Linked DNA regions of Homo sapiens: regions 2, 3, 4 and 5 are each linked to region 1. The links are contacts of gene promoters, found by promoter capture Hi-C in blood cells and fetal thymus (Javierre and others, 2016). All regions are on one chromosome and are shown on one strand. Each heading gives the region's core, a stretch centred on a gene start or on the middle of the fragment in contact. The rest is flanking DNA. Distances are from core to core; before and after follow the strand shown. Region 1 holds the start of ATP6V1B1-AS1 (ATP6V1B1 antisense RNA 1). Region 2 overlaps ADD2 (adducin 2). Region 3 overlaps ADD2 (adducin 2). Region 4 overlaps ADD2 (adducin 2). Region 5 overlaps FIGLA (folliculogenesis specific bHLH transcription factor).

Region 1 (6,099 bases), core at 1,568-4,067:
TTTATCAGCTTACCCGATATCAGGTAAACTGATAAATTGGAATGTGGATGGTAGATTAAAGTATTGTATCAGTATAAATTTCAGAAGTTGATAGCTCTACTGTAGTTATATAAAAGAATATCTTAATTCTTAGGAAATATACACTGAAGTACTTGAGCTTAGCGTACCCTCAAAAGATTCAGGAAGGCCGGGCGCAGTGGATCATGCCTGTAATCCCTGCACTTTGGGAGGCCGAGGCGGGCAGATCACCTGAGGTCAGAAGTTCGAGACCAGCCTGGTCAAAATGGTGAAACCCTGTCTCTACTAAAAATACAAAAATTAGCCAGGCGTGGTAGAGGGCGCCTGTAATCTCAGCTTCTCGGGAGGCTGAGGCAGAAGAATCGCTTGAACCGGGGAGCTGGAGGTTGCAGTGAGCCAAGATTTTGCCACTGCACTCCAGCCTGGGCAACAAGAGTGAAACTCCGTCTCAAAAAAAAAAAAAAAAAAAAAAAAAAATCAGGAAAAAATTATGCACACACAGTCACACATGGAGAGCAAATGATAGAGCAAATGAGATAATATATTAACCGTTGGTGACATGGATGTTCCTACTACTATTTTTATCTTTGCAAATTTTTATAAAATTGAAATTGTTTCAAAATAAAAAGTAAAGTAAAAGTATACTGACGGAAAAAGAGACATAATTCCCTTTATTTGCAGATTATATTATACATTTAGAAAGACTCAAGAGGTTCTGGTTTAGAAAGAAGGTTTTAGAATGAATAAGATAATTTGGCTGTTTATAAGATAAATATTTAAAAATCATTCCCCCCCTCCTTTTTTTTCTATTTTAGTAGTAACCAGTTAGAAGAGGCAACGGAGAAAACCATCCCATCTGCAATAGGGCCAAAACTCATAAAATAGCTAGAAATAAATATAACAAGAAAGGTACAAAAAAAAATTATGGAATAACATAAAACAAGTCCTAAACAATGAAGAACATTATTGTCTTAATGTTCTTAGTTACTAGCATAAAAACATTAATCCTTTTGAAAAGTATATAAATTTGATCCAACCCTAATGGATTATTGTTTATTTTAAAATTTAATAAAATTATTTTAAAGTTCACATAAATGTCTGAGAATAGCCAAAGTAGTTATGAAAAAGATCAGAGATAGAGGACTTGCCTTTTCAGATATTAAAACTTGTTATAAAGCTACTGAAGTCAAGCAGTAAATTGATATGAGGTAGACAAATGGATCAGTAGGAAAGAAAAAAAGTCCAGAAGGAGATCCCAGATTTTATAGGACTATTATAGAACAAATGTTGTATATTAATTAATTCTCAGAGGGGAAATAATATATAGAACATAAGAGGATATCTAGTTAGAAGATAACCACATCATAAACCCAAATACATTCCAGGCATGTAAAAAAAATTTAAATATAAAGTAAAAACAATTTTTAAAAAATACTGGAAGAGCTTTTCTTCTTTCCTATCTTTCTGAATAATCCAATTAAAAGACAGATGAGCAATGTCTTTAAGCAAGACAAGAAATTCAGAAGGTATAAACAAAAAATATTTGATCATATGAGTATTTCAAACTTCTGTATGGCAGAGACACAATAGATGAAATCTTTGTTTCATTTATTGTTGCAAAAGATAGCCTGTGAGCAATAAACAAGGAGCTCCCGTATGCACAACTTGCTTGGTAGGAAGATTTCACGGAGAAGGAAGCAAAATCAAAATGGTAAACATATGGACAGACACTCAACTTTCCTAGTTATCAGAGAAATGTAAATAAAAGCGAGACAGTACTAGTTTTCATTTATTAGATAGGTAAAACTACAGAGAGAACATATTCAGGGCCAGCAAGGATGTGGGGAAGTGGGTCCTCTCATACCTGGTTGGTGGAAATGTGAATTACCACAACCCTTCTGGGCAAGCCATCTTGCCCCAAATTGTCAATATCTAATTTGAAATAAAAAAGTACTTGAACCAGCAATTCCACTTCTGGGAATCTATCCTATAACCACAAAAGCGTCCGTTTAAAAGGGATACAATATTGTACTATTTGTAATGGCAAAACCTGAGAACATACGAATGTCTGTCAATAATGGGACTATTGAGTAAGTTACAGTACATCCATACTATCGCCTGCTATGCCAGTATCCAAAAGAATGCGTAAAATGTGTATCCGCTGACACTGTCAGTGGATCCACTGTCAGTCCCTTGGCTCTCAAGGGACTGACCCCGAGGTCAACCTCTAACATATTTGCCTGTGTTTGAGCGTATTCAGCAGGGTCTTTCGGGGCTGAGAATAAAGCGGTTAGGGGCAGATAGTTAACTTTACGTGTCTTTCCTCTTTTTCACTAAGTTACAAGGAGCATGTATTATTTTTGCAATTAAAATATAATACATTTTTAGGACATGTTACAGCACAGTGCTGGTGATTATCATCATCATTACTATCGTTATATCACCTACTGGCCACAAACTAGTGACCTTAAGGGCTTGCGGGTTGGGGCGGAGGGTCCAATTCCCCAGCAAGGTGTGACCAAGTAGGGACCACTCCGCCAGGGAACCCCTGCTGGTCGAACTTGAGACTAGGTTTGCAGCCCTGACAATCACACGGAAGGGAGCGCTACCTTGAGTCCTCCCTTGTCCTGTGAAGAGGATGCCAGGAAGGTGACCTGTGGTTCCCCAAACCACCCCTCAGCCTTGCGGAGTGGGGGCTTCAGCACTAGGCCGGCCGGGGAGGAGGGCTCCGAGGTGGGAGGAGCTCCGAACACCCAGGCGTCTTGGGTTCTCAACCACAAGAGGGAGCCCAGGAGCACGGACAGCGAGGGCCTGGGAAACGCGTGGAACACACGTCCCGGCTCGTTTTCCTCTCCCACTCTGATAACCTGTGTTTCGATACGAAACGGGCCCTGCCTCATTATTTGTCATCTCCCTGGAGGTGACGGAGGGCTGTTTCAACCTCAGGGGAAAAGTTGCTGTACAGAACACAGGCCAGAGTGTGCCCCAAAGAAATCAGGCGGTGGAGTGATTTAAAAGTGATCATTTTCTGTAGTCCTAGCTACTCGGGAGGCTGAGGCAGGAAAATCGCTTGAACCCGGGAGAAGAAGGATGCAGTGAGCAGAGATCGTGCCATTGCACTTCAGCCTGGCGACAGAGCAAGACTCCGTCTCAAAAAGAAAAAAAAAAAGTGATCATTTTCATGTGAGTTTATGTGGGTGAGAGAGGGAGGGTGGCAGGAGAGGAGAGTGGAGAGGAGAGTGGTGCGTTCTGTGTCCCTGAAGGACAAAATCAGAGAAAATGAACTTTAAATGGCAGAAATTGTGGTCAGATCTGGGGAAGGGCCATCAGGTTTTCACACTCAGGCATGGAGGGTGTAGTGTCTGGAACCTTTAGGAAGAGCCCCAGGCTCTAAGTGTGTGCTGGATGTTCGTCGTTATTGTTGTTGGTGGTGGGATCTCATGACCAGTTATGGCAGTGGGTACCTGGGAGAATTCCCGTGGGGGATAGCTAGTCCAGGAGCTTGTATCTTAAGGGGCCCTATTTCCCAGCCGCATACTGAGCAGGCCTGATCCCATCAACTCGGTTGATGTCGGTTACTAAGAGGGCTGCAGGAAGAGGGCATGACTCAGTGCAATGTAACCCCGTGCTGGAGATTCAACTGAGCTCTCAACCAGCAAGTGGCCAGGCACAGGGGAGCTGCTGTCTACACACGGAGGACTGGAAGTTCTTAGCAAGCCTGTCGGGATTTGTGCACAGGAATGCTGCCTCTAAGGTCCCTCCTGCTGACAATGGCCAGGGCAGTGCGGAGGCTCCTCTTTGGAAATTGTCTTCAGAGCTGATGCAGACTCTTTTGAAAGCAGCCACAGACATTGGGGATGGAGTCTGGTGGTTAAGGTGAGTGCTTACTCCAATTCTCAAACAGGGACCAATTTGAATCACAGACTACAGGAGTCAGAAGATTCTCTAGAACAGAGGTTCTCCGTGTGGTCCCCATACCAGCAGCATCACCTAGGAACTTGATAGAAATGTACATTCTTGGGCCTCCTACCCCAGGCATGCTGAATCAGAGCTCTGGGGTGGGGCCTAGCAATCTGCCTGTTAACAAGCCCCCTGCACCCCTGATATTCTGATGCTTGTTCAACTTATACAAATCAGAGAGTTAGACTTTTCTGGGTCACGAACCCTGAAAAATCAGACGAAACTGTAGAAACTCCTACCAGAAAAATGCACAGGCACATTCATGCATACCTTCAAAGGTCTGCACACAATTTCAAGGGCCTAATTCCTTGGGCTAAGAACCTCTGATCTACACAAAATTCTTCCCTCAAATGTTCTTACATTTGAGGACGGAAGCAGGAAGAGTAATTGCCTGTGTGATTCAATGTGGGCAGAAGGTGGCGCTGTAGAAACAGAATTGTAGCATTTGCCAAATCCTGGTAGAGGGAAAGGGGTAGGGGCAACGGAGAGGGATGGGGAGAGGTGCCTCCACCACCCAATTATTTTTCTCTGCCAAAGCTACAGATGCATCCGATAGTCGCAAAACCACAGGTCTGGGGACCTAGTTCTGGTTTCCTAGATCGGCCTCATTTTACAGTGGAGAAAATGGACACCTGTATAGGTTCCGACTCCATGCCACACTGGGTCCCATGGAGAATGGCAGGTCTGGTGGAGAGTGTGGTGGAGGTGGAGAGGGGGCAGGAGGTGGCACCAACTGTTGAATCAGGCTTATTAGCATTTCTGCATTCCAGGCAGAAACATTGCTGGCTATTCTCAAGGGAGAATAATACTACATTTGTCTGATGTGAACCTCACAATAATCCTATTATTATTTAATAGATGAGGAAACTGGGATTTACAATCCGAGATTGATGGTTCTCTAACTTGAGCATCAGTTCACCTGGAAGGCTTGTGAGGACAGACTTCTGGGCCCTACCCCCAGAGCTTCTGATTCTGTCAGTCTGAGGTGGAGCCCAAGAATTTGTATTTCTAACACGTTCCTGGGCAGTGCTAATGCTGTTGATCTAGGGTTGGCATGTAGCTAGCAGAAAAGAGTGGGATGGATCTGGGATTAAAATCCAAACCCAGTGTGCTGCACTTAACTACTCAGCCACACTTCCTCCTGGGGCGTCCCTTACACTGGGGGGTCAAGTGGTAATGTCCGTATGAACTCAGAATCTGTTTGTTAGCAAAGAATGGGTCTGATTTATTTAATATTGTTGGCTCAGGTTTTGACAGGTGCATAGCTAGTCATGCTAACATTTATTCATTCATTTATCTCATTAATGTACTCACCTTTCCTTTGAGCAAACATGCTGAGCACCTACTATAGCCTATGTGTTCAGTAAAAATGCTGTGTTGGGCTTCTGGAGCTGAAGATGAACAAAACACAGTTCATGGCCAATAGCAGGGCACGGTGTGTGTGGGGAAGGGTAGGGAGGAGATACATGGCCAGATCTTGACCAAATACCTCAGTGGATGCCACTAATAAAACCACAAAAAGTAGAGAAGAGGGAGAGGCATCCAGGAGAAGGTGACCTCTCAACCCTGGGGATGAGTCAGAGGGAGGGAATAGGGGGAAGTGTAGTCTAGGAGGCAGAGGGAAAAATCTGTGCACAAAATTACAGCTAGCCAGGAGCAATAAGTTCTAGTGTTCTATACCACAATAGGATGACTGTAGTTAACAACTATATATATATATATATATATATATATATATATATATATATCTCTTCAAATAGCCAGAAAGAGGATACTAATATTCCCAACACAAAGAAAGGATGCTGGAGATGATGGATATGCTAATTGCCCTGACCTGATCACTATGCATTATATGTATCAAAACATCACTGTGTACCTCAGGAATATGTACAATTATTGTGTGTCTATTATAAAATGCACAGACACAATCCCCCATTCTTTGTCATTCCTTTCTACATACTCTATCCTCTTGTCCAACTAATTGTGAGAAGGGTTCTTTGCCTAGAACCTATCTCAGAGTCTACAGAGAGAACTCAGGGCTTCTGTGATCTTGAATGGGAAAGTTACATTTTTACATTCATTAACGTTTACGCAAATTTAGTGTTTCCTCTAGTTCTGAAT
Region 2 (6,099 bases), core at 2,631-5,130, 250 kb after region 1:
TATAGAGACGAGTTCTCACTGTGTTGCCCAGGCTGGTCTGAAACTCCTAGGCTCAAGCGAGTTTTCTGCATCCGCTTCCCAGAGTGCTGGGACTGCAGGTGTGAGCCACTGTGCCTGGCCTGTTTTTATTTTTTGTAAACTTCCTATAGCATTGCCATCTGACATTCTGTGGCTGTAACAGAGAAATGGGATAGCCAATTTTTTTGGTTCCTTTTTAGGTCGCCAAACATTTTTTTTCTAGATGCTTATGGATATTTTCCCCTTATCCCTGTATTTCAGAAATGTTACCAGGAAGCATATAATTGTAGGTTTTTTTCTTTATATGAACTTTCCCCATAATCAGTGAGTACTCACATGCACAGGTCTTTTTTTTTACAGTTCAGAAAATGTTTCTTCTACCATATTCACATGGCTTATCTATAGCCGGGCTCTCTGGTTTTTATCTCCCAAATCTGTCATATTCTCTACCATCCTTTCCACGTCTGTCATTATACTCTTCCTCCTGAGAAAGGAATGGGGCTGACCAGCATTCCCATTGCCTCACCAATCAACATCTGTCAGGAAGACAGATGGATGCCTGGAAATCTGCTTGGTACACATCCAGGATATCTGAGTCAGGGATGCGGAGAGGGGAAGTTTCAAGTACCAAGAGTTCAAGCCCAGATAGGTTGTTATCTGTCTAGCTCCATTTGCCTTAGAAATTGGGGTTTTGAGCATCAGTGTGCCCTTAAGTCTTAGCTTTCAGGGACCATGGTGAGTTTTCATCTTTTTCTGTGTTTTCTTAGGTACTTTGACTAAATGGCTCAGTTAGATCTGATTTATAAACGTGACATTTAGCCATCCTAACTTTCGTGAGGCCAATTAGAATAAGCTTTTAAAAACTTGTTGTAATATTATTTTCTTTTTAAAATGGATACCTAATAGTTGTACATATTTATGGGGTACAAGCGACATTTTTATATATAAATAATAATATAATGATCAAATCAGGATAATTGGAATAACCATCACCTCAAACACTTATCATTTATTTATTGGGAGCATTCCACGTCTTTTCTTCTAGCTGTTTTGAAATACACTATGAATTCTTGTTAACTACAGTTGCCCTATTGTACTTTCAAATTCTAGAACTTATTCGGTCTGTCTGTGTTTTTGTACTCATTAATCAACCTGTCTTCATCCCACCTCTCTTGAGACTCAGAGCAGGGGATCGGGAGCTCCTTTTGAGCCCTCCTGTTCTCTTCTTCTTCTGCCCCTTGTACCTGTGGGTGAGGTCATCCTCTTAGTTGAACCTCCACGGGGTTGGGGAGAGGGACTGTCTTTGATACAGACACAGATGATGTGATGGGGTGAGTATTTTCAGACCTGTTCTGGCCCCCTGGCCATCACTGGGGCCCCATGGTTATTTGTAGGAGAAGTATTCAAAGAACTGTGGTATAGACTATATAGACCTCCCAACATCAGCCCCACCTGCCCACCTTTGCCTGGGGCCCTGTGCTTTTGACATGCCCTCCTCGCTGCTAGGCATGAAGCAGAGAAGTAATTTCTTGTCTGGGGAACCCACAGAGGGGAGGAGGCAATCCCAAACTGGTCAATTTGAATTAGAAATCCTTAACTTTGGAAGTTTGTTGTTGTCCTTGGCAGTCTAACTAGGCTTTTGGACCACTGCTGTCCCTGCTATCTGTGTTTGCAGGGCACCTGCCCTGGAGGTGTATCACCTCTGGTTGGCAAGGCCCTTGTGTGCGTTTCCTGACATGGGTGATTCAAGGCCTACTCTGCTCGCTGGATGTTGGCCCAGCACCCAGTCTGCCCTCGCTTTTTGTAGACCACATCATCACTTCCACTAATGGCACACTCGATGCAGGACATACATCGTCCGCCCTCGCTTTTGTAGACCACGTCATCACTTCCACTAATGGCACACTCGATGCAGGATATACATCGTACTGCAGCAAGTTTCACAGAGGTGGTAAAAGCTTCCAAAGAGCATCCTGATCCATTAAAATCTTTGGTGGGAGCTGGGAGAGGCAGCATCAGGAGGCTCCCAGCCAGACACCATTTTAAGCCAGAACCTTTCCTATTGATTCTCTTATTAGTTCCTAGATGCTGATTCAGATGCTAGAGCTCAGATGCCCTCTGCTCCCTTCCTGAGGCATGTAGGCAGTGGTCATCATGGTTAACGGGATAGACTGGATGTCATATCCTAGACCCTTGCATGCCCTGAGGACAAGACTATCAAACCCTCTAGGCCCATTTCCAAATCCCTTCCACATCCCCTCAAATTCCCAGAAAGAACCACCGTATAGCTAAGGGACTGCATGCCCAGAGAGGAGCCTAGGTACCCTGCCTGAGGCCTCTGGCCTTTCAGCCAGCCACAGCTGCACTCACTTCCAGAAGTTTATGACTTGTTAGAAAAACTTGAGGAAGTTACTTTCAGGCTGATCTGGCTTTCTTTTTTTGGGAGGGTGTGGGGGACGGAGTCTCGCTCTGTCCCCAGGCTGGCGTGCAGTGGTGCACTGCAACCTCCACCTCCCAGGTTCAAACGATTCTCCTGCCTCAGCCTCCTGAGTAGCTGGTATTACAGGCGCGTGCCACCACACCCAGCTAATTTTTGTATTTTTAGTAGAGACGGGGTTTCACTGTGTTGGCCAGGATGGTCTTGATCTCTCGACCTTGTGATCCGCCCGCCTCGACCTCCCAAAATGCTGGGATTACAGGTGTGAGCCACCGCACCCAGCTCTGATCTGGCTTTCTATTTTCCCTGTTTCTAAATCACAGAAAATGTGATTACATGGTGTCGTTAAAACAATGTAATAGCTGGTTTAATGACGAGTAACTTCTTCATTAATAATAACTGATGAAATATACCCATGTTTCCACTCAGAGGTTTATTCTTGCTTTGATTCAGTGCCCATCTTCAGAGTTTATGGTAAGCTTGGCATTCCCAGAACCTGTGTGGCATTCCCAGAACCCTTCATTCTGTGGCCTTGAGACTTGCCATGATTTTTGAGCAAAAGTTTATCTGAATGAGCAGACTTTATTGGGCACAGACGTCGATTCTGTGGACTCCTGCCCCAGGTAAGGGTCAAAGAATGTTTAATTCCCTGCCTGGGGAAGTCTCCTGTGCAGTTTTAGTGCCAGTGAGAATTTGGAGAACACTGGAGCAAGGAAGGGGAGGGCAGATGGGCCCTGGCCCTGAGAGAACTGCACTGTCCCTGCAGATGTCTCCATGATGACGCCTATCAATGACCTCCACACAGCTGACTCCCTGAACCTGGCCAAAGGGGAGCGGCTCATGCGGTGCAAGATCAGCAGTGTCTACCGACTCCTGGACCTCTATGGCTGGGCCCAGCTGAGTGACACCTATGTCACGGTGAGCAGAACGCCCTGGAATTGGGTGGGGCACTGCATGTGGTCCCACAAAACCCAAAGGGAGAACTCCTGACCCTTGGCATGGCCATGGCACTGCTGGTGACCTTTGGCTAAAATGCACTGAACCCTTCCAAGTTTTTTAACCACTGTGGTCATTGATAAGGCATCCTGCCCAGTGGGCACTTTTTTGGATGGGAAGGAACTCCTGGATCCTATCCTAGAGCTACCCTTGATCATAGTGAGTTTCCTTTTGTAGCTCCCTTTCTCCTGCTCCAAATAAAAGCTGAGTTCTTTTTATCTCTTATGGCTGGGGGGGAGAGATAAGGGTTCATTAGAGATGGACTTGGGTGCAGTAGATTCAGGGGAAGAGGGGATTCAAGCACAGTGTCCTTGGAAATGTCCTTTCTCCCTCCTTGCCCCTGAGAACTTGTGTCTTTCCTCCAGTTGAGAGTCAGCAAGGAGCAGGACCACTTCCTGATCAGCCCTAAGGGAGTTTCTTGCAGTGAAGTCACAGCGTCCAGCCTGGTGAGTACAGTCCAGCATCACTGCCCACTCCTTATTGAAATGACAGCACTCTCTCTGTTCCCACAGTGCTAGGTCATCTCCAAATTGGTCACTGTTGCGCTGTGGAGCTCACAATCTGATAGGGCAGAGAAGACACATGGAACAAACTAAGTGTCCAGAGCATGATGCGACCAAGAGACCAATTGCCAGGAGGAGGTGGCAAGTGCAGTGGGAGGGAGGAGGGAGTGGAGATGGGCCTGGCATCCTCTCAGCAGACTCATGGGATGGCTACACCTGGGATTAGACCACAATGGTTGGGAATGGGGGGCCTTTCTGGTTAGGGGGATACATTAGAATAAGACCCAAAGCAGCACGAGATTTGTCCAGCACTGGCACCATTAGAGATGCTTCTGGGTCCCTTTTCAGTGTTGCTCCTTTTAGATGAGGTAGAGGCTTGCAAAAGTTGCTTTAGTTCAGGAAATATTTCCAGATGGGGGGAGGAAAGCAGTAGAAAGGACTGTCTTAGAAGCAGAAAAGGCCCAATCCTTCTCAGATACATGGGCTGTGGCTGCTATGCCATGTACCTCGGAGAGGAGGACACTACCTTGGGGGCTTCTGCCAGGCTTGAGACATGCTCAGGTGTAGAGCGCGGCTACTCACTCAAAAGTCCAGGCTCAGCAAGTCATAGAATATCTAGGCAGGGCAGGACTTCTACCATGGCCAAGGCCACTTGAGAGGTAAGAAAGGAAACTGGTGCCCAGGGAGGGTAAGCAGCTTGCACAAGGCTACCCAAGGAGATGATGGCCAAGTCAGAGTTGGGACCACAGAGAAAAGGATGACACAGGCTCTGTCCGTAAGGTGTTCATGGTCTGGTTGGAGGAGAGAGGCGAGGTAATCAGCTATGAAAGCTCAGGGTTACCGAGTGTTCCAGTAGAGGTGAAGGAAGCTTGGGGAGCCTGGAAAGGGGCACCCTACCCCGCCAGGAGCTGTAGGAGAAAGAGGGAATGAGGGAGGAGGCGTCTAGCTGAAACCATGGTGCAGGAGTGGAGTCAGTGGGATATGAACCAGCGGGGTAAGCAGACTTAGATCATGGTGGCAAGGAGAGGTTTGGCAGAGGTGACTGTGTCCTTAGCAGGAGTGCAGCATGCATCAAACCCAGATGCATACCAGAGCCCTGTGCATGCATTTGGGAAGACAGGCCAAGTCTGGCTCAAGTATTCAGTATCTGGAGGTGACCTTGGGAAGGGGATCGGGTCCAGGTGATAAATGGCATGGAAGATCCTGTTATGGTGCTTTGGCTTTATTCTGCTGGACACTCAGAGCCACTGAAATGCGAGCAGGGGAGTAATGCAAGCAGATTTCTGTTGTAGAAAGATCACTCTGAAAGCTGTGTAGAGGCCAACCGACACCTAGGTGGGGTTATTACAGCAAGCTGGGAAGGAAATTCCGGGCCTCTATGCTTAGTAGGCCTGCTGATCAGTTGGATTGGGAATATGGGATTGAGTTTGAGAAGCTGGTGGGACTTTCAAGAGATGTCAGTTGGCATTTGGTTATTCTAGGTTCAGAAGAGATGCAGGCTAGAGATACAGGTTTGAGTCATGGGCATGAGATGTTTATGAATTGTGTGTAGACATAGGGCTGCTGTGTGTGGTTGTGCAGTTTGTGCACTGCACAAGGGAGCCTGGCTAATGAGGAAGAGAAGAGAGGGTGAAATCCAACCTGTGCTCCACTCACTAAGTGTCCTAGCATTGGGCTTCTGTTTTGAATTTGCACAAAGGCAATACCCACACACCAAGCCCTATGTCCCTGGGCTGTCCTCAAGAGGGGGTACCTGCTTTCTCATTTGTACAAAGGCACCGTATGGGAGGGTGGCTGCTGTATTAGGCTGTGGAGGTTCTTGAATGACAACAGATCACACATCCAACAATGAGATATAAAATATGTAAGATCAGAGAGAGATCATCTGAGAGAGGGAATTCTAAACAGGCCACATGTCTGAGGAAGTGGGGGAGCTGGGCTGAGGGAAACCAGAGGGCAGCACTCCACACTTGGGTTTAAAGTACCTGAGGCGGGAGAGTTGCTGCAGCTTTTAGGGGTCACGCTGCTTTGAAGTCTGTGAAATTCACTTAAAATAGGATATTGTAAGTGGAGATTTGTTGAACATCTTCCTGATGCTTCTGTGTAAGCAAACGCCAGCAGCACATCCCTCCGCCCACATTAGAG
Region 3 (6,099 bases), core at 2,068-4,567, 210 kb after region 1:
CCCGGCTAATTTTTTGTATTTTTAGTAGAGACGGGGTTTCACCATGTTAGCCAGGATGGTCTCGATCTCCTGACCTCAAGATCCGCCCGCCTCGGCCTCCCAAAGTGCTGGGATTACAATCGTGAGCCACCGTGCCCGGCCGTTCACCTTGAAATCTTAAGTTCAGTTCCATTAACTGATCCAATGCTCGAAAGAAGACAATTAGAGGTACATTCAAGTCACCACCAAGTCCTGTGTTTTGTTTTGTTTGTTTTTGTCTCCTAAACATCCGAAGCCTATCCACTGTTCTCCAGCTCCCCCAGGCCCTGATTCCAAGCCCGGTCTTCCCCACCTGAACATCTGCTGCTGCCTCTAACTGACCCCCACACGCCCACTAGTGACCCATCCCCTATTCTATTTTTCAGTGTGAGCATTCAATATGAAAATGGGACCTTGCTATCCTCCATTTAAAGCCCATTAATGTTTCCCATTATTCTTAGAAAAAAGGCAGAATTCCTCTGTGCTCGAATCTCATAGACCTTACCCTTTGCCACTCAGCTTCAGCCACAATGGACTTCTTTCAGCTCCTTCAACTCATCAAATGCTGTCTAGCTTTCGAGCCTTACATTAGCTGTTCCCTGCACTAGGAATGCCCTTTCATGTCATTTATATCTCAGCCTTCCACCTCTTCAGAGGTCATTTTCCCTTTTTCTCCCTGTCCCAGCATGTCTGTATGTATTGTCCACACATACAGCTATACAAACACATAACACACAATTTAGTTCAGAACCGTTTGAATGAAGTGCAGATATCATGCTATAATAAATACTTCAATGTGTGTTTCCTGAAAACAAAGACATTCTGTTACATAATTGCCCAATACAATTTTTGGTAATTGTAAACTAGACAATTAACATCGACAAACCTTTCATAAACCAGGCAATTAACATTGGTACAATCCTACTATCTAATCTATAGGGTTTATTCAAATTTTGCCAATTCCAATTATTTCCATGGTGGTTACCAAATGGTGACTATGTTGCCCTATTTTAATTCTTGTCATAGTTCTTATTACTCTGAGTTTTAAGAGTGTAGGATGTATTATCCATTTAGGATGTAAACACTAAAAATAAGCTCCTTACCTGGCCTGTTTACTCCTGTATTTCCCCTGGCACCAGGAACAGTGTCTGACACATAGAAGATAAGTATTTGATTGATGAACAAATGAGTAAATGGCTGACTGGATGGCTATGACCTAGCATGATTTGGCTGCCATGTGTCATCCCTGCTGTCCCCTCTAGGCTTCTCAGCTCTGCTCTGGCCACACTGGCCTTCCTTTAATTCCTCATGCTCTGTATGCTCTGATCTACCACAGGACCTTTGTACCTGCTATAGTAATCTGGCCTGGAACACTTTTTTCTTCCTATTTCATTGTTGACTCTTGTTTTTCCTTACAAGACTTGATGACTTTAAATACAGTATAGCCACAGCTTCCAGGAAGCCTCTACTCTAGGTTTTTCAAACCAGATTTATTTTTAAATAGACCTGGCAAGTATTTCAGAATTTTACAAACTTCTTTGAAATGTTACACACTTGTTGAGAAGAAAGAGCATTTTCTTCTCTTCTTCTCCCACTGTTAAGTGTTTTGAAGCAGATATTGTCCCTAATAAATTACCTGACTGGTGGTAACATACAAAGCAGCCTGGAGAGAGGAGACAGCCATAAGACGCTGCCTCTTCCTCTGTGAAATGCTGAACTTTTCCTTTCGACCAGAGGTGCCTTATGCTCACATTTCTTTCATGGTAATCCAGCTCTCAGAGAAGTGGAGTAAAAATACAACCAAATTATATTTTGCACATGTCCTTTTATGAGTCATATGCTACTGTATGTATTATCCAATTACACATGCACAGTACTGTGTGGGGTGATACATGGAGAGCCATGCCCTATTCCTCATGTCCACTGAGGAGATGTTCAATGATAATTTTGACTCCAGCCAATATTGACCGTACTGACAGGCTATGGACGCTGACCAGTCTATCATAAGATGTGACTTTGCTGTGATAATTTTGACCTCCTTAGCTAATTCATTAAATACAGTCTTGGATTCTTGAGTGGACTGTGCTATGCAACAGCAGTACTAATATTTTTGAAGCAAGATTCTCACTTAACACATCTGTAACATAGGATCCATAGGATAGGATTTAATAAGATTTTCAAAGAGAGTGTATATTTTTCCCTCATGGGCAAAGTTAAACATACATTGACAAACTTAAATATCACATAACTTAAAAAAACATAACATTAAGATGTATGTAAGTATAGCCAGGGACCTCATTTGTAGGCTCCCTAGGTGCTGTTCAAATGGTGTTCTATGGCAGGGAACATAGAACTCTTTTGCCAGATTTATACATACAGAGCACATCAAGGACTTGAGTGGATTGTATTGCCCTAAAAGGTCAGCCCCAAAGACAGATAATGGCTACAGTACTTTGTTTTCTTTGCGGCATTCCTCTTATTTCATTCACTGTTGTTCTATAGGCAACAAGAGTTGAAGAATCAATAGGTACCAGTTGAGCCTGACTTGATGTTTCACCTTGAGCTCCATCACTTTGATTGCAGATATCGTCATATTTTCTTTTAGAATTCCTGTTCTTCAACCAGCAGTCCATTTCTTTTTTTAAGGGAAATGATTTCACTTCATCTAAAATAAATAATATGTATAAATATTAAAAGTTAGCTAAGAACACCTACAACTTAGTTCTGCCTTGTCAAGAGCTGATTCCAAGCAGATGTAGCTGAGCTGTTTCTGGTGTGTCACTGGGCCCAGTGAATATTTTCTCTGGTAATGTACTTGATTATACATTTTCATGTGAGCAGACACAAATGGGTTTTACTCTCTAAAAAATAACTAGCTCAGAAATAGCACTTTCTTAACCAAAAACATGTTTTGGGTAGTTCTTAAATCTGCATAGGCAGGGAAGCTTTATTCTGACGTCAAGGAAAAGAAGAATTAGCACAAGGTATTGGTAGTCTCAGATGTATTTGAATTAGGAATATTAAAGGTGTAGTATATAATGGCCTTTTAAATAGTTAAAACAGATTGGATCAAATGCTTGTAGAATCCCTGATGTACCTCTTGGAAACTTCCAGGTTCTTGGAACACAGTTTGAAAACTTCAAATCCAGTCCAACATCTTCATTTTATTATTGATTAGAGAAATGTCAAAATTGGTTAATGGATTTGCCTGGGAGCCCACAGCTGGGTGGGATGTGTGGGGGAGGAGCTGGTATTGTGACCGAGGCTGCTGATCACAACAGGCCAACCTATACTGCAGTACCAAGACACCATATGATTTCAGTGGCTGAACACAACAGAAATTTATCTCTTGCTCCTGTTGCATGTCCATTGAGTTTCAGTGTGTGTGTGGGTCCTGTCCCATGTCTTCCTTACTCAGAGATTTAGCTGATGGAGTTGTCATCATCTGGAAATTGCTGGTGACTGCAGCAGGAGGAAGGCTTTAACATGCTTCTTCCCAGAAGAACGTTTGTTCATATTTTATTGACTAGAAAAATACGTATGGGAATGCTGACCTGGAATGTGGTGGGGAAATGTCATCTTCTCCTGTACGCCAAAGTAGAGAGGAAACATATACTGGTGAACAATAGCATCCATCACACTTAAAAGCTTGCCTCCCAAAGGAGCTGCCCTCTTCGTTAATACATTTGCTCTCACTGTCCTTTCTCCTTTATTCTCCCAGAGCACCACTAACACGAAGCTCTTCTGCACATCAGACTCTTAATCAAAGGATTGGGCATATCAGAAGGTAATTATAGTGTAAGGCTGTAAACAACTTTTAAATTCAATGTCAGATGTCAGTAATTCTCAAAATTTATTGATCATTCACTGTTACAGGGAGTTTCTCACTGGCTGTTTCTTTCTATAAGCTACTGTTCTTTGCCGTGTTCTTGTCTTGATGCTCCTGACTCTCTTTCCGTCTCCCATTATTTTCCCACTGCTGATATTTGGTAACTTTCTCTGCAGGGCAATTTATCATTTCTTTTTTTAAATCATCCTCTCCCACATCAAGATTTGTGAAATTTGACAAAGGAGCAGGAACTCACTTTTCACATTTTAAAGGACCCATCAAAAAATTTCTTAGACCAAGGCCGGGCACGGTGGCTCATGCCTATAATCCCAGCACTCTGGGAGGCGAAGGCAGGTGGATCACTTGAGGCCAGGAGTTTGAGACCAGCCTGGCCAACATGGTGAAACCCCGTCTCTACTAAAAATATAAAAATTAGCCAGGCATAGTGGCACACGCCTGTACGCTCAGCTACTCGGGAGGTTGGGGTGGGAGAATCACTTGAAGCCGGGAGGCGGAGGTTGCAGTGAGCTGTGATTGTGCCAGTGTACTCCAGCCTGGGTAACAGAGTGAGACCCTGTCTCAAAAAAATAAATAAATAAAAATAAAAATAAAAAATTTCTTAGACACACACACAAAAACAACAAAAAGCAAACAAACAAACAAAAAAATCCCCACAAAAAACAAGACAACAAAAACTCTGCCATCTCCCTGAGGATAAATGATGCTTCTCCTAGAATGAAGAAATTGTTAGCTGAGGTGTTTTGTTTTTAACCAGCATTTTACTCTGCTCTGCATGCTTGCAGTGAAATTGCTTACTATAATGTAATTTTTGCCACCCAAATCTATTAGGTTTCTGTTTGTATTGTGAGATTGTGGATAGTGAGGAGGGATACCTTTAAGTCTAATTAGTCAACCGATTCAGGTTTCTTGTATTCTCCTATCCTCTTTTTTAAGCCTCTTTGTCAAGGACTGAAAAGCATATTAAAGTAATCCATTATTATTATGATCCTGTTATTTTCTTACTGATTCTCAACAGTTTTTGCTTTACATATATAGTCCAGTGCTATGTTATTTAGTACATAATTGTTCAATAGGATACTTTCATTATGGGGTTTACTTTTTTCAAATATAAAAATATTTTGAATCACTTAGAGCTTTTAACCTTAACTTTTATTGTCTCTGATATAAATATCATAAGCCATAGTTTGTTTATTTTTTCCTGGTGCATATTTATTGATCTAATTATTTTATTATCTATTTTAGTTTTTTAACTTTTATTTTAGGTTCAGGGGTACATGTGCAGGTTTGTGACGTAGGTAAACTTGTGTCACGGGGATTTATTGTGCAGATTATTCCACCATGCAGGTACTAGGCCTAGTATGCAGTAGTTATTTTTTCTGATCTCTCCCTTCTCCCACTCTCCACCCTCAAGTAGGCCCCAGTGTTTGCTGTTCCTTTCTTTGTGTCCATGTGTTCTCATCCTGTAGCTCCCACTTATAAGTGAGAACATGCAGTATTTGGTTTTCTGTTCCTGTGTTAGTTTGCTAAGGATAATGGCCTCCAGCTTCACCCATGTGCCTGCGAAGGATGTGATCTCATTCTTTTTCATGGCTACATAGTATTCCATGGTGTATATATGCCACATTTTCTTTGTCCAGTCTGCCATTGATGGGCATTTAGGTCTTTGCTATTGTGAAAAGTGCTGCAATGAACATATGTGTGCATGTGTCTTCATGGTAGAATGATTTATATTCCTTTGGGTACATAACAGTAATAAGATTGCTGGGTCAAATGGTAGTTCTGCTTTTAGCTCTTTGAGGAATCACCACACTGCTTTCCACAACGGTTGGACAAATTTACACTTCCACCAACACTGTATAAGTGTTTTCTTTTCTCTGCAACCTTGCCAGTATCTGTAATTTTTGACTTTTTAATAATAACCATTCTGACCTGGTGTGAGATGGTATCTCATTGTGGTTTTGATTTGCAGCCCTCTAATTATCAGTGATATTGAGCTTTTTTTCATATGCTTGTTGGCCACATGTATGTCGTCTTTTTAAAAGTGTCTTCATGTCCTTTGCCCACCTTTTAATGGGGTTTTTTTCCTGTAAATTTGTTTAAGTTCCTTATAGATGCTGGATATTACACCTTTGTCAGATACACTGTTTGCAAATATTTCTGCCCATTCTGTAGGTTGTCTGTTTACTCTCCTAATAGTTTCTTTGGCTGTGCAGAAGCTCTTAAGTTTACTT
Region 4 (6,099 bases), core at 1,025-3,524, 190 kb after region 1:
TGATATTTTTGGCTGGGTGTGGTGGCTCACGCCTGTAATCCCAGCACTTTGGGAGGCCGAGGCAGGTGGATCACCTGAGGTCAGGAGTTCCAGACCAGCCTGGCCAACATGGTGAAACCTCGTCTCTACTAAAAATACAAAAATTAGCTGGGTGTGGTGGTGGGCGCCTCTAATCCCAGCTATTCCAGAGGCTGTGGCAGGAGAATTGCTTGAACCCGGGAGGCGGAGGTTGCAGTGAGCCGAGATCACACCATTGCACTCCAGCCTGGGCAACAAGAATGAAACTCCATCTCCAAAAAAAAAAAAAAGAAAATGAAATTTTTGACCGCTTTCCTTTTGCTATGTCCTTTAGCATGCCCTTTAAATCCATATAATATAGTTATATTTATATATTTATTTGATATATAATTATGTAATTATATATATAAACATGTATTTGTGTATATTTTATATGTTTTTACATAGTTATATTTGATGCTGTATTACTCAGGGCCCTGATTGCCCAGGACTGATGGGTTTTCTGGGATGAGGGATTTTCAGTGCTAAAGCTGGGACAGTGCCAGGCAAATGGGGATGACTGGTTATCCTCTGTGACACAAATGTTGTGACCCTTGACTCTCCATTGTGGGGTGAATCTTCCATATTTCCAGACCTGCTTTGTCTCATTGTATTTTTATTTTTGTCTTAAATTTTACTGTGTGATAAGAAATCTGGTCCTGCCTTCTTTCTGTTTCCATTTCCCTGGTGTGATGCTCATTCTCTTTCTTCTTAAGCTTTCTTCTTTTACGTCATTTTGATTTTTGTCTATTTTAAGCATCATAATTGGATTTTTAATCCAATTGTGACTCAATTTACATTTATTATATGTGATACAGTCACAGATCTTCTAAAATTTTATTTTACATTAAAAAAATTCCAAGCTATTTTTCCACCCCCTTTCTTAACTTAAATGTAGTGTAAGAGTCCCTTGTTCTTTAGATAAAAGGGAAATTTTCTGCCCATTTTTTTCTACTAGTCTTCATTAACATTAAAAAATATAGTTGTGTTGGCCAGGCGCGGTGGCTCACGCCTGTAATCCCAGCACTTCAGGAGGCCAGGGCGGGTAGATCGTGAGGTCAGGAGATCGGCCATCCTGGCTAATATGGTGAAACCCCGTCTGTACTAAAAATACAAAAAATTAGCCAGGCGTGGTGGCGGGCACCTGTAGTCCCAGCTACTCGGGAGGCTGAGGCAGGAGAATGGCATGAACCCGGGAGGCAGAGCTTGCAGTGAGCCGAGATTGCACCACTGCACTCCAGCCTGAGCAACAGAACGATACTCTGTCTCAAAAAAAAAAAAAGTTGTGTCTATTTGTTCTTTCATAAATAATGAGAGATTTAGTATACTTTAATTCCTTCCTTCCTTCCTTTTTTTTTTTTTTTTTTCTGTCACCCAGGCTGGAGTGCAGTGGTACAATCTCATCTCACTGCAACCTCTGTCTCCTGGGTTCAAGTGATTCTTGTGCCTCAGCCTCCTGAGTAGCTGGGATTACAGGCACCTGCCACCACGCCCGGCTAATTTTGTATTTTTAGTAGAGACCAGGTTTCACCATGTTGGCCAGGCAGGTCTCAAACTCCTGATCTCAGGTGATCCACCCACCTCGGCCTCCCAAAGTGCTGGGATTACAGGTGTAAGCCACTGTGCCCAGCTTTAATTTCTTTTTTGTTGCCCATCTACCCCCACTAACTTTTTGCCTTAAAAACATTTTGGCTTTTAGATCCAGATTATTGTCTTTAAAAAAAAAAAAAAGTAATGCATGCTTTTGCTTTCCAGAATTATTTTTGACATTTATGTTTCCTAACCATACTAACAGCTGCTATCTAGACTGAGAGTTACATAGGTTACAATACTCAGTCCATTTCCTATGCTCAATCTTCATTTTTACTTATTCCTTGATTAGTTGGAATCTTTTTCAGGAAAGATAGTATATTCCGGTAGTTCTTGCTTGCCTAAGAACTTCTTTATGTTGCTGTTTCACAGTAACATCATCCTTTTGGGGCATACACTTCTTCATCTTAATCTTTTTACCTAAAAACTCCAAATATTATTCTTTTGTCTTCTGGCATTTTGTATGATGGAAGATAAGTTGTGGCCAACTTTATCAAAATAACTATGAAAGTCCACAAAAGTTTTGTTTCTTTCCCTTGTAATGACTACTTTATTTAAAAAAACCTTAAAATATATAAAACATAACACAGATATAGGAAAGGACATGAAACAAATGTGCAGTTTAGTGAAATATTATAAAGTGAATGCCCGTGTGACCACCATGCAGGTCAAGAAGCAGGACACAGCCAGCTCCCAGAGCCCAGTGCACCCTTGAACCACACCCTGCTTCCCCCTGGAGGTAACAACTCACCTTCCTTTTATGGTAACCATTTTCTTGCTTGCTTTTATAATTTTATAATCTAAATTTGCATCCTCAAACAAAGTACATCAGACTTGTTTCTCTGAAACTTTAAAAAATTAGAACTGTACCATTTGTATCTTATTCATTGTTATAACATCTCCATGGTGACTACTTTGATGCTTCAAAAAATATATATCAAATTTATTCCAAGAATATTTGGAGCCCTACTTTGCTTGGTGCTCTAAATTGGGGAATCCAGCACAGCCAAGAAGGAAGTGGTTTGTGTAAGACAGTGGTCAGTTTTAGACAAGACGAGTTTGAGGTGGGGATGGCCAGCAGAGAGGCAGACGTATGCATGTGTCATGGCTGGGACCCGAGATCTGAGTTGCAGGTTCAGGGTTATAAACACGCACGTGTAGGTTTCAAGATGGCACCATGGACCTAAATATTTGCCTTTCTTTTCTTCAAAGTGTCCAAAGACAAATATAGTAAGGAAAACATCGATTTGAGTTTTAGAGAAGAGAACAAACACTGGGCCTAGATTCTTTAAGGACTCTGTAAAAGTTAGAGTACAGATGGTGCCAGCCAATATCACCCAGCCCATGAGTATCAACAAGGGGCTTTCCTGGGAAGAAGCAGTGGTGTCCTCTCAGCTGAGTGCTAGTATCCCCAGGCTCAATGAAACAGGGCTAGATGGGCTGTGGTATGGTCAGTGGGGTGGGGATGAGGGATATAAATCTAAGGGCCGTGGGAAATCTATCAGCACTGCCACCTTGAGTGGCAGATCCCCATCTTAGTCTGCCTGTGTTGCTATGAAGGAATATCCAAGGCTGGGTAATTTATAGAGAAAAGGTTTACTTTTCTCATGATTCTACTGGCTGGAAGACTGGGCAGCTTGTGGAAGCCTCAGGCCACTTCCACTCCTGACAGAAAGCAAAGGGGAGCTGGCGTGTGCAGAGATCACATGGCAAGAGAGGAAGCAAGAGAGAGGGGAGGAGATGCCAGGCTCTTCTTAACAACCAGCTGTCATGGGAATGAAAAGAGTGAGAACTCACTCACTACTGCAAGAATGGCTCCAAGCCATTCATGAGGGATCCACCACCATGACCCAAACACCTCCCACCAGGTACCCCCTCCTTCAACATGGGCTTTGGAGGGATCAAATATCCAAACCACAGCACCCTCAGTTCCTCAGACATGTGCTGAGGGAGCTCCCAGTAAAGTGGGGATTTAATATATCCAGCTTCAAACAAGGTTGATTCTGATCACTTCACCAGATGCAGCTAAAAATAAAGATACAAAAGTATGTAAATAAACGCTATTCCACCCAGCAGTAAATACCTGTAATGTATTTGATCTAACATAGGGCCTCATCCTGCAAGCTTCCAGGGCAGGATCTGGAGGCCAGGGAGCTTAGGATCTAGGTACCTGAATACAAATTTCAGTGCTCCATTTAATGCCTGGAATGGTTTTCTCTGTGCCTTTTTTCCAGCTGTGAAGTGGCTGAAAAAAACTTTCTAAGCCAAGTAGTAAATCCCTGTGGCTTCTATCAGTAGCAGCTCTAAGGACCATTTGACATCCTTCACCCCATCCCCATGGCTCCCTGAATTGATGACAATTCTAGTAGTTTCCATGAGTCCAGGCTAGACTTTGGTTTCCATGTCGATGTTGCCTTCCATTCTGCCTGGGCTACTTTGCTTGGGTTCCTGTTTCATATGGCCACACTGCCCCTGGCTGAAACTCTGGATTACTTTAGAGTCCCCCCACCTTCTTCCCTGCTTCCAGCCCAGTCTTCCTCCATCCATAGTTTATTATTATTGTTTTTCTGAGACAAGGTCTCGCTCTGTTGCCCAGGCTGGAGTGCAGCAGTGCAATCATGGCTCACTGCAGCCTTAACCTCCTGGGCTCAAGCAATCCTCCCATCTCAACCTCCCAAGTAGCTGGGAGTACAGTGTATGCCAACATGCCTGGCTTATTTTTTTTAAAATTCTGGTAGAGACGAGGTCTCACTATGTTGCATAGTTGATCTTTTTAAAACAAAAATCTAATCTCATCATTTCTCTACCCTCCGGATAAAGCCCAAGCTCCTTACCTGCCTCAACTGCTTTTCCTCTTTTTCCTTTACGCTCTACCCTCTAGGTAGGCTGAACTACTCCATTTTTCTGAACATGCTTTCCCACCCTCCCAACCCTTCCAAAACAACTCTTTCCACCTCCTTATATGCCCTCTCCCCACCTTTTATCCAGCCAGTTAGTTCTTTTAGAAAGCCAATAAAATAGGCAAACTTCCAGAAAGCCTAATTAAGATACAAAGGCAAAAAAATTCACAAAGCTAGAAATGACATATGGAGCAGCATGGAGAAAAGATGTAAAATCTCAAGAACATTGTGCATTATTGTATCCCATCATCTGTGAAAATCTTGATGAAATGGACTATTTCCACTGAAAATATGCATTACCAATATTTACTCAAGAAACAGAATGTCATGTTCCCAGATGGGAAGAACCGATGTTATAAAGATGTCGATCCCTCACAGTTCCTGCCGCGTGAATGGCAGCCTCCCTGGTAACCAGAAGTGATGGAGATTTGTTCCTATTTTTACGTTCCTTCGGTAATTTTCTGTGGAATTTTGAAAGGGTCGTTAAATGTTTGTGCTTGATTGTGAATCATTTTATTGAAGGGAAAATCAATACAAGGGCATTTGAATGTTATTTTTAAATTGTTTTTCTCAAAGAACAAATGAAGTTATTAAACTTTGAAATGCATGGAGGCTTTATGAAACAATTTCATTTAACAATGGATGTGATTTTCTGCTTGTGTTATTTTATTGAGTATGAATTTTATCATGTTTGCTTTCTTTACTCGGCATGGAGTCTCCATAAGAATATCTAGGGGTTTACTTTCAAAAATCTACCGTGAAAAGACAGGACAGGAAAAGTGAGGGCGGGTTTGATTCTTTCCTGCTTTCCTCATGTCAGATGGCAGAGCATCCATACTGATTATCTCAGCATCCCTTTTTTTAGAATTTATTCTCCTTCCCTCTTAACACCATATTTCTCTTAAATCTTTCCAACACCCTCATTTGTGTCTTAAATTAGCTACGTCTGTTACCATAGTTATGCAGTATCCAGCTTAACCATTCCACACTCATTCCCACCATACTGTGTGTGAGACTTCCTCTCTCTTATTTCATAAAATATATCATTATTTTTCTTTATTCGTCTCCTGTCCCCAAACTTTTAGTTTTTAAGGCAACACTTGTTCATACTTAATGAATCAAATAGGACTGAAGGGCTTCTAATAAAAGGCAACAATCCCTGTACAAATCCCCCCCCCCCACAAATCCCTTATCCACAGGCAAACCAATTTTAGCTGTGTTTTTTTGTTCTGCTGTAGATACCTCTGTATCCCAAAATAATATGCATGTACTGCTGTTTCTGAATGTATCAACTGTGATCATTGTCTAGTGACTTTCTGCCATAAAAATTAAGGTTGAACCAGCCGGGCACGGTGGCTTATCCCTGTAATCCCAGCACTTTGGGAGGCCGAGGCAGATGGATCACTTGAGGTCAGGAGTTCAAGATCAGCCTGACCAACTTGGTGAAACCCTGTCTCTACTGAAAGTACAAAATTAGCCAGGTGTGGTGGGGCATGCCTGTAATCCCAGCTGCTTGGGAGGCTGAGGCAGGAGAATCGCGTGAACCTGGGAG
Region 5 (6,099 bases), core at 1,450-3,949, 170 kb after region 1:
CTACCACCCCTGTTCCAAGTTGCGGTAATCTGTGAAATTACTCACTGGGGACATTTCTTCCTATAGCATTTTAAGCTCTGAAATGAGACGGTTTGGCTAGTTGGGATGAATTCATTAGCACCTTGGGAAAGACCTGAAGCCTCTTTCTTCTGTCTTCCACCTCACATTCCCCCAGGTAGTGGCTCTATACGATGGTAAAACTTCTACCACAGTAAGTGATGGGTCTCGCTTTGCTTGAGAAGCACAGTCATCTGCCCTGGGGTTCACCAATAGCCCATGGGGCATATTCTGATGAGATTAGTCAGCCCAGCATTTTCCAAAGTTGTTTCCCATTTAATGGGGTGGGTGCCTTCTGGTTTGTCCCAGTCCTCCCCACTCCTTCCTGCACCAGAGTAGCATATTTCACCTGGTAAGGTGTTGGGATTTTCTGCCCTGGTCTAAAGGCACAGTGGCTCAGAGGAAAAGCTGCTCCGGCGACTGCATTTATAGCCCTGGGATTTTACTGTGCTCTCTATACTTTGGGGATTTAGGGGCTGGTGCTGTGATGGTGCCTATGCTTGTGGTTCTCTGGGATTTTGGAAAGAGCCTTGCTTTTCAGATTATCATAGGAACAGGGACTGAACTCTAAAGCTGAGTGAGCAAGGATTTCTGTTTACCCCATCTCCCTCACCAAGCCTGGCTCAGTGGGTGGAGGAATGTACATTGGATAATACGTCAAATTCTGCAGCCACACTGCCAACAATTGGAGTGTGCCTGCCTTCTTAAAGATATTAAGCAGCAAACTGGGTTTCTATTCTCCAGACTACCCTCTTCTTGGACCTTAAACTCTTTGGCTTAGATGAGACCAACAGCCAATTTTTAATGAGCTGTGACAATAAAGACAACATTTATAAACTTTGGCAAGTTTTTCTATTCTCATACTTAAATATTACGTTTCTGAAATTTTCCAGCTAATTCTTAAAAACAAACTAAAATAAATGTTCTAAAATGCAGTAGACTATAGGCAGAATATTGTCATCCTTTAATCCTTCAGGTAAATTTATATGAATTTGTCTCAAGTATAAAAAATTCTAAATATGAAAAAAATTAAAATTTATTTTAAAAATAAAGCTTCCAAAGCTAGGTCTGAACTATAAAAAGAAAGAAATGTTGATCACTTGTATAGTGGAAAGACTCGATCAAGATTAGAAAAAAAAAGCTACTCATACATATTTTGTGTCAGAGACTGCTCCTGGCAGTGTATACATATTAACCTATTTAATTTTCACAACCACCCTGTGCTATACAAACAATTATATCCATTTTACATGTGAGGAAACTAAGGAACAGAAGTAACTTGCCCAATACCTGCAAGTCAGTGAAGTGTTGGGGTTGGGGGGGATGTGGGTGATAGTGTTAAGTCCTTTTTAACCACTTTCGTTCTAACAAAACTCAACTTTGAAATGTAAAGGAGGGTGGACTAGAAAATAGATAAATGTTTAAGGCTAAGTTAAAGCATTTGATTGCGGTGCTTTACCATCCACAGTGATGTACATAATAGGTTTCAGTATCCAAAATGCCTGACCATGACTTGAGCGGCTTTATTTTTCAGTCATGGGTTTATTTTTTCTTCAAGTTGAGAGTTTCAGAAAATTGAGCAGAGACAAAATGATCTTGCCACGTTAGTAAAACCACTGATGGAAATACACTAAAATCCTTCCCATTTCTTTTCCTTTGCAACTAAAATAAAAAATTATCATCAGGTACATAACATTGTGTGCCTGTTCTTGATTTTTCTATCACTGGCATGTTTATGTGACCCATTAGGTGGGACAATTTTTTTACTGTTGGCCACTATGTTCTCAGTTTTTTGTTCTCTTAAACGTGACAAATAACCGATGTGTTTAGCCCTTTCTGTATTTTGTATTGTTTTTGCAGGATAGATTCCCAGAAGTAGAACTGCTGAGTCACAGGTAGGTCATTCTATAACCTGATGCATAGTGCCAATTTATAACACCACTGGCTGTATAATAAGAGTGCTAATTCCATCACATTCTTAGCAATGAGCTCTATTAAAAGAAGGAATCTTAATGGGTAAAAAAGTAGTATCTTTAAATTTAAACATCTTTGATTACTAATAAAATTAATTTTTTGCATATTTCTTTATTTCTTTTGTAAACGGTTCTTATTTTTAACTATTTATAATGGAATGTTTTCTCTGTTTCAGACTTCCACAAGTATGAAAAATGAAAAGGCCCAGGGTTACCTTCTAGAGACAAATAAATGCAGTCTTGAAAGTTTTGGAGTCTCTCTTTTTTTTTTTTTTTTGAGATAGAGTTTCACTCTTATCACCCAGGCTGGAGTGGCACGGTGTGATCTCGGCTCACTGCAACCTCCGCCTCCTGGGTTCAAGTGATTCTCCTGCCTCAGCCTCCTGAGTAGCTGGGATTACAGGCATGCGCCACCACGCCCAGCTAATTTTTGTATTTTTAGTAGAGACAGGGCTTCTCCACGTTGGTCAGGCTGGTCTCGAACTCCCGACCTCAGGTGATTCAACCACCTCAGCCTCCCAAAGTGCTGGGATTACAGGAATGAGCCACTGTGCCCCGTGGGAGTCTCTTTTTTAAAAAAGAAGTTTTGTAGTAATTCCGAGTTTAACAATTACCCTTTTAAATAGCCTTGCCTCTCTCAAGTTTACTCCACTCTGCCTTCTCCTTAACTTCATGCTTTGAAGAAATAGGCTTCAGGGGCTTCATCCTTTGCTTCCAACTCACTGTCATCCTCTGGGGACCTACATCTTTTTTTCATTGCTTTGAGAAATAAGTGACTGTTACCCTTCCAATAGAAATTAACCTTAATAGAAATGAAGACTTAAGCTAAAAGAGTTGTAAACATTGGCCAAGGGGAGTGAGAGTTTTCAAGGGTTTCTAGATACCCAGCTAAGGCCAAATGGCACCTTTTGTGCAAGGTAGACAGCCAAACACCTTGAGCACAAAGACTTCGTCTTTATAACCATTGCTCACAAAGACATAGTACTTATTATATGCTGGATTCTGTTCTCTATGCTTTCCATGTGTTAACTTGTTCTTACAACAAGCGTAAGATAATGGCATAAGTATCCCCATTTCACAGATGGGAAAACCAAGGTACAGAAAGTATAATTAGCTTAGCCTGCCTTAACAAATACCATAGACTGGGTGGCTTAACAACGGAGATTTATTTCTTATAGTTCTAGAGGCTGGAAAGTCCAAGATTATGGTCTGGCATTGTTCAGTTTCTGATGAGGGCTTTCTTCCTGGCTTGCAGATGACTGCCTTGTCACTGTGTCCTCATATGGCAGAGAGATAGCTAGCTTTGGTTTCCCTTCTTCTTATAAGGGCACCAATCCTATTGGATTAGGGCTCCATCCTGATGACTTCATGTAATCTTAATATCTCCTAGAGACCCTGTCTCCAAATACAGCCTTATTGGGGGTTAGGCTCTCAATATATGAATTTTGGGTGAACATATGCTGTTCATAGCATTCTGTCCCTAGCCCTTCCCCCAAATTCATTTTATCACATGCAAAATATATGCATTCCACCCCAGCAGCCCCCAGAATCTAAACTCATTCTCACTTTAAAGTACAAAGTCTCATTTAAATATCTTCTAAATCAGGTATGGGTGAGACTTGAGCTATGATTCCTATCTTTCTCCAGCTGTGAACCTCTGAAACCAGACAAGTTATGTGCGTCCCAAGCACAATGGTGAGACAGGTGTAGGATTGACATTCCTATTCCAAAAAGGAAAAATAGGAAACAAAGTGTTAATGGGTCCCAAGCAAGTCCAAAACCTATTGAGGCAAATTCCATTATATCTTAAGCCTCAAGAATAAATCCTCTTTGCTTTGATGCAGTGTCATCCTTGTGGCTTGGCAGGGTGACCTTCCCTCGGAAACTGAGGAGGAACTCAGCTCTTCTCCTGCCTGTGCCCCCTCCTCCAAAACATACACACACACACTGAGTGGCCACCCTGATCTCTGAGTTGCCTTTGGGGTCATTTCTTTCCTTTGCTTAAATAGTGCATGTTTGTAGCCAAATAGTGATATGGTCTAGTCCTATAGAATCTGAGAAGGCTGACAGCTTACCTTCATTCTTTCCCATTTTCTCTGTCCCCTTTCTTTCCAGCTATCAGGGTCTTTCTGGTATAATCCCGTCGGTATTCCTGGCTTCAGCTGAGATGGCTAATTAAGTATATGAGTCACACTCATGATCTGTTATCAAATGGTTGCTCAGCCACACCCTTAGTGATCTCTTCAGAGTAAGCTTTCTTAATTTTTGCAATATGGATAGGTTAAGAAATTTTCCAAGTCCCCAAGTTCTGGTTCCTTTTTTTTTTTTTTTCTTTTTAAGACAGAGTCTCTATCACCCAGGTTGGAGTGCAGTGGCACAGTCTTGGCTCTCTGCAACCTCCACCTCCTGGGTTCAAGCGATTCTAATGCCTCGGCCTCTTGAGTAGCTGGAATTACAGGTATGCACCACCATGCCCAGCTAATTTTTGTGTTTTTAGTACAGATAGGGTCTCATCATGTCCGCCAGGCTGGTCTTGAACTTCTGGCCTCAAGTGATCCACCCACCTCAACCTCTCAAAGTGCTAGGATTGCAGACGTGATCCACCACACCCAGCCTCTGATTCCTTTTTGCTTTTGATTTCTTCAGTTTATCTCATGTTTCCCGAATTTTACTATAAGCAGTAAGGAGGACCCAAACTGCACCTTTAATACTTTGTTTAGAAATCGCTTCTGCTAAATATTTAATTTTATCACTTGCAAGTTCTACCTTCCCAAAAGCACTAGAATGCTATTCAGCCAGATTGTTTGCCACTTTATAGCAGGATCACTTTTTTTTTTTTTTTTTTTTGGAGATGGAGCTTCACTCTGTCACCCAGGCTGGAGTGCAATGGCACAATCTCAGTGCACTGTAACCTCCGCCTCCCAGGTTCAGGCAATTCTCATGCTTCAGCCTTATTTCTACCAACATTCTGTTTCTGATTATTCTCTGAGAAGATGAATGCTTCTCTCCAGCTCTCCTCTTTTCTTTCTGAATGCTTACCAGAAATATCTTTAACATCCATATTTCTACCAACAGTCCCTTTATGGCAATCTAGGCTTTTTCTAGCATAAATCTTAAAACTCTTCCATTTTCTATCAATTACCCAGTTCCAAAGCCACTTCTAGATTGTTAGGTATTTCTTACAGCAACATCCCACTCTTGGTACCAAAATCTGTATTGGTGGTCTCAAGAGAAAAAGAACCAACAGAAGATTATGTATTTATTGCAAGAAATTGGCTAATGCCTTTATGGAAGCTGAGAAGTACCAAGATCTGCAGTGAGCAAGTTGGAGATTCAGGAGAGCCAATAGGATGGTTGCAGCTTGAGTTCATAGGTCTGAAAACCAGGAGAGCCAATGGTTTAAGTTGGAGTCCAGAAGCCACCCACACTAGGAGGACAATCTGCCTTACTTGGTCTGCTGAGTCAAATGTTAATCTCATCCAGAAATACCCTCATAGATAACTGGGATGTTTGATCATAGCCTTTTTCCTTCCCCCACCTTAAAGAGTAGCTTTGTTTGCTTGTCTACTGGGCTTTGGGTCCCTTGTCTTCATCAGGGGGAATGGTGTAAATGAAGAGAAGGAAGGAGAACAGAAGTTGAGACTAGCTGTATTAGTTTGTTCTCATGCTGCTAATAAAGACATACCCAAGACTGGGTAATTTATAAAGGAAAAGAGGTTTAATGGACTCACAGTTCCACATGGCCTGGGAGGCCTCACAGTCCTGGTGGAAGATGGAGGAAGAGCAAAGGGACGTTTTACATGGTGGCAGGAAAGAAAGAATGAGAACCGAGCAAAAGGGGAAACCCCTTACAAAACCATCAGATCTCATGGGACTTATTCACTACCATGAGAACAGTATTGGAGAAACCACTCCCATGATTCAGTTATCTCCCACTGGGTCTCTCCCACAAGTGGGAATTATGGGAGCTACAATTCAGGATGAGATTTGGGTGGGGACACAGCCAAACCATATCACCATCTTTATTAGAGAGGAAAGAGAGCTACCTACAGAAGAAAAGCTCTGGAAG

Evidence for each region. Contacts are between HindIII fragments. The CHiCAGO score rates a contact against its expected background, and 5 or more counts as called.
Region 2: a fragment that was not itself captured here is called in contact with the fragment with the promoter of ATP6V1B1-AS1 in region 1 in 1 of 17 cell types (M2 macrophages); the score reaches 5.5 in M2 macrophages.
Region 3: a contact is called between a fragment that was not itself captured here and the fragment with the promoter of ATP6V1B1-AS1 in region 1, in 1 of 17 cell types (M1 macrophages). The highest score is 5.8, in M1 macrophages.
Region 4: a contact is called between a fragment that was not itself captured here and the fragment with the promoter of ATP6V1B1-AS1 in region 1, in 2 of 17 cell types (M2 macrophages and M1 macrophages). The highest score is 6.4, in M2 macrophages.
Region 5: a fragment that was not itself captured here is called in contact with the fragment with the promoter of ATP6V1B1-AS1 in region 1 in 5 of 17 cell types (M2 macrophages, M0 macrophages, M1 macrophages and 2 more); the score reaches 13.8 in M2 macrophages.

What each region holds. Positions count from the first base shown.
Region 1 is chr2:70,945,329-70,951,427 of GRCh38, reverse strand. It overlaps ATP6V1B1-AS1 (ATP6V1B1 antisense RNA 1), which reads left to right and starts at 2,817. Exons shown (of 2, transcript NR_110274.1): 1 at 2,817-3,201. The region is part of intron 2 of ATP6V1B1 (ATPase H+ transporting V1 subunit B1); the gene reads right to left. The HindIII fragment of the contact is 10,354 bases long and covers 1-6,099 here.
Region 2 is chr2:70,693,519-70,699,617 of GRCh38, reverse strand. ADD2 (adducin 2) reads left to right here. Exons shown (of 16, transcript NM_001617.4): 5 at 3,222-3,373; 6 at 3,817-3,897. Among named protein-coding and RNA genes, the nearest start is that of ADD2, 72 kb to the left of the region's middle. The HindIII fragment of the contact is 1,888 bases long and covers 2,937-4,824 here.
Region 3 is chr2:70,739,047-70,745,145 of GRCh38, reverse strand. All of the region lies in intron 1 of ADD2 (adducin 2), which reads left to right. Among named protein-coding and RNA genes, the nearest start is that of ADD2, 26 kb to the left of the region's middle. RefSeq lists an enhancer at 16-517. The HindIII fragment of the contact is 703 bases long and covers 2,966-3,668 here.
Region 4 is chr2:70,756,917-70,763,015 of GRCh38, reverse strand. The region is part of intron 1 of ADD2 (adducin 2); the gene reads left to right. Among named protein-coding and RNA genes, the nearest start is that of ADD2, 8.2 kb to the left of the region's middle. The HindIII fragment of the contact is 2,998 bases long and covers 776-3,773 here.
Region 5 is chr2:70,773,490-70,779,588 of GRCh38, reverse strand. FIGLA (folliculogenesis specific bHLH transcription factor) reads left to right here. Exons shown (of 5, transcript NM_001004311.3): 4 at 1,918-1,952; 5 at 2,207-2,279. The coding sequence ends at 2,222. Among named protein-coding and RNA genes, the nearest start is that of ADD2, 8.3 kb to the right of the region's middle. The HindIII fragment of the contact is 3,173 bases long and covers 1,113-4,285 here.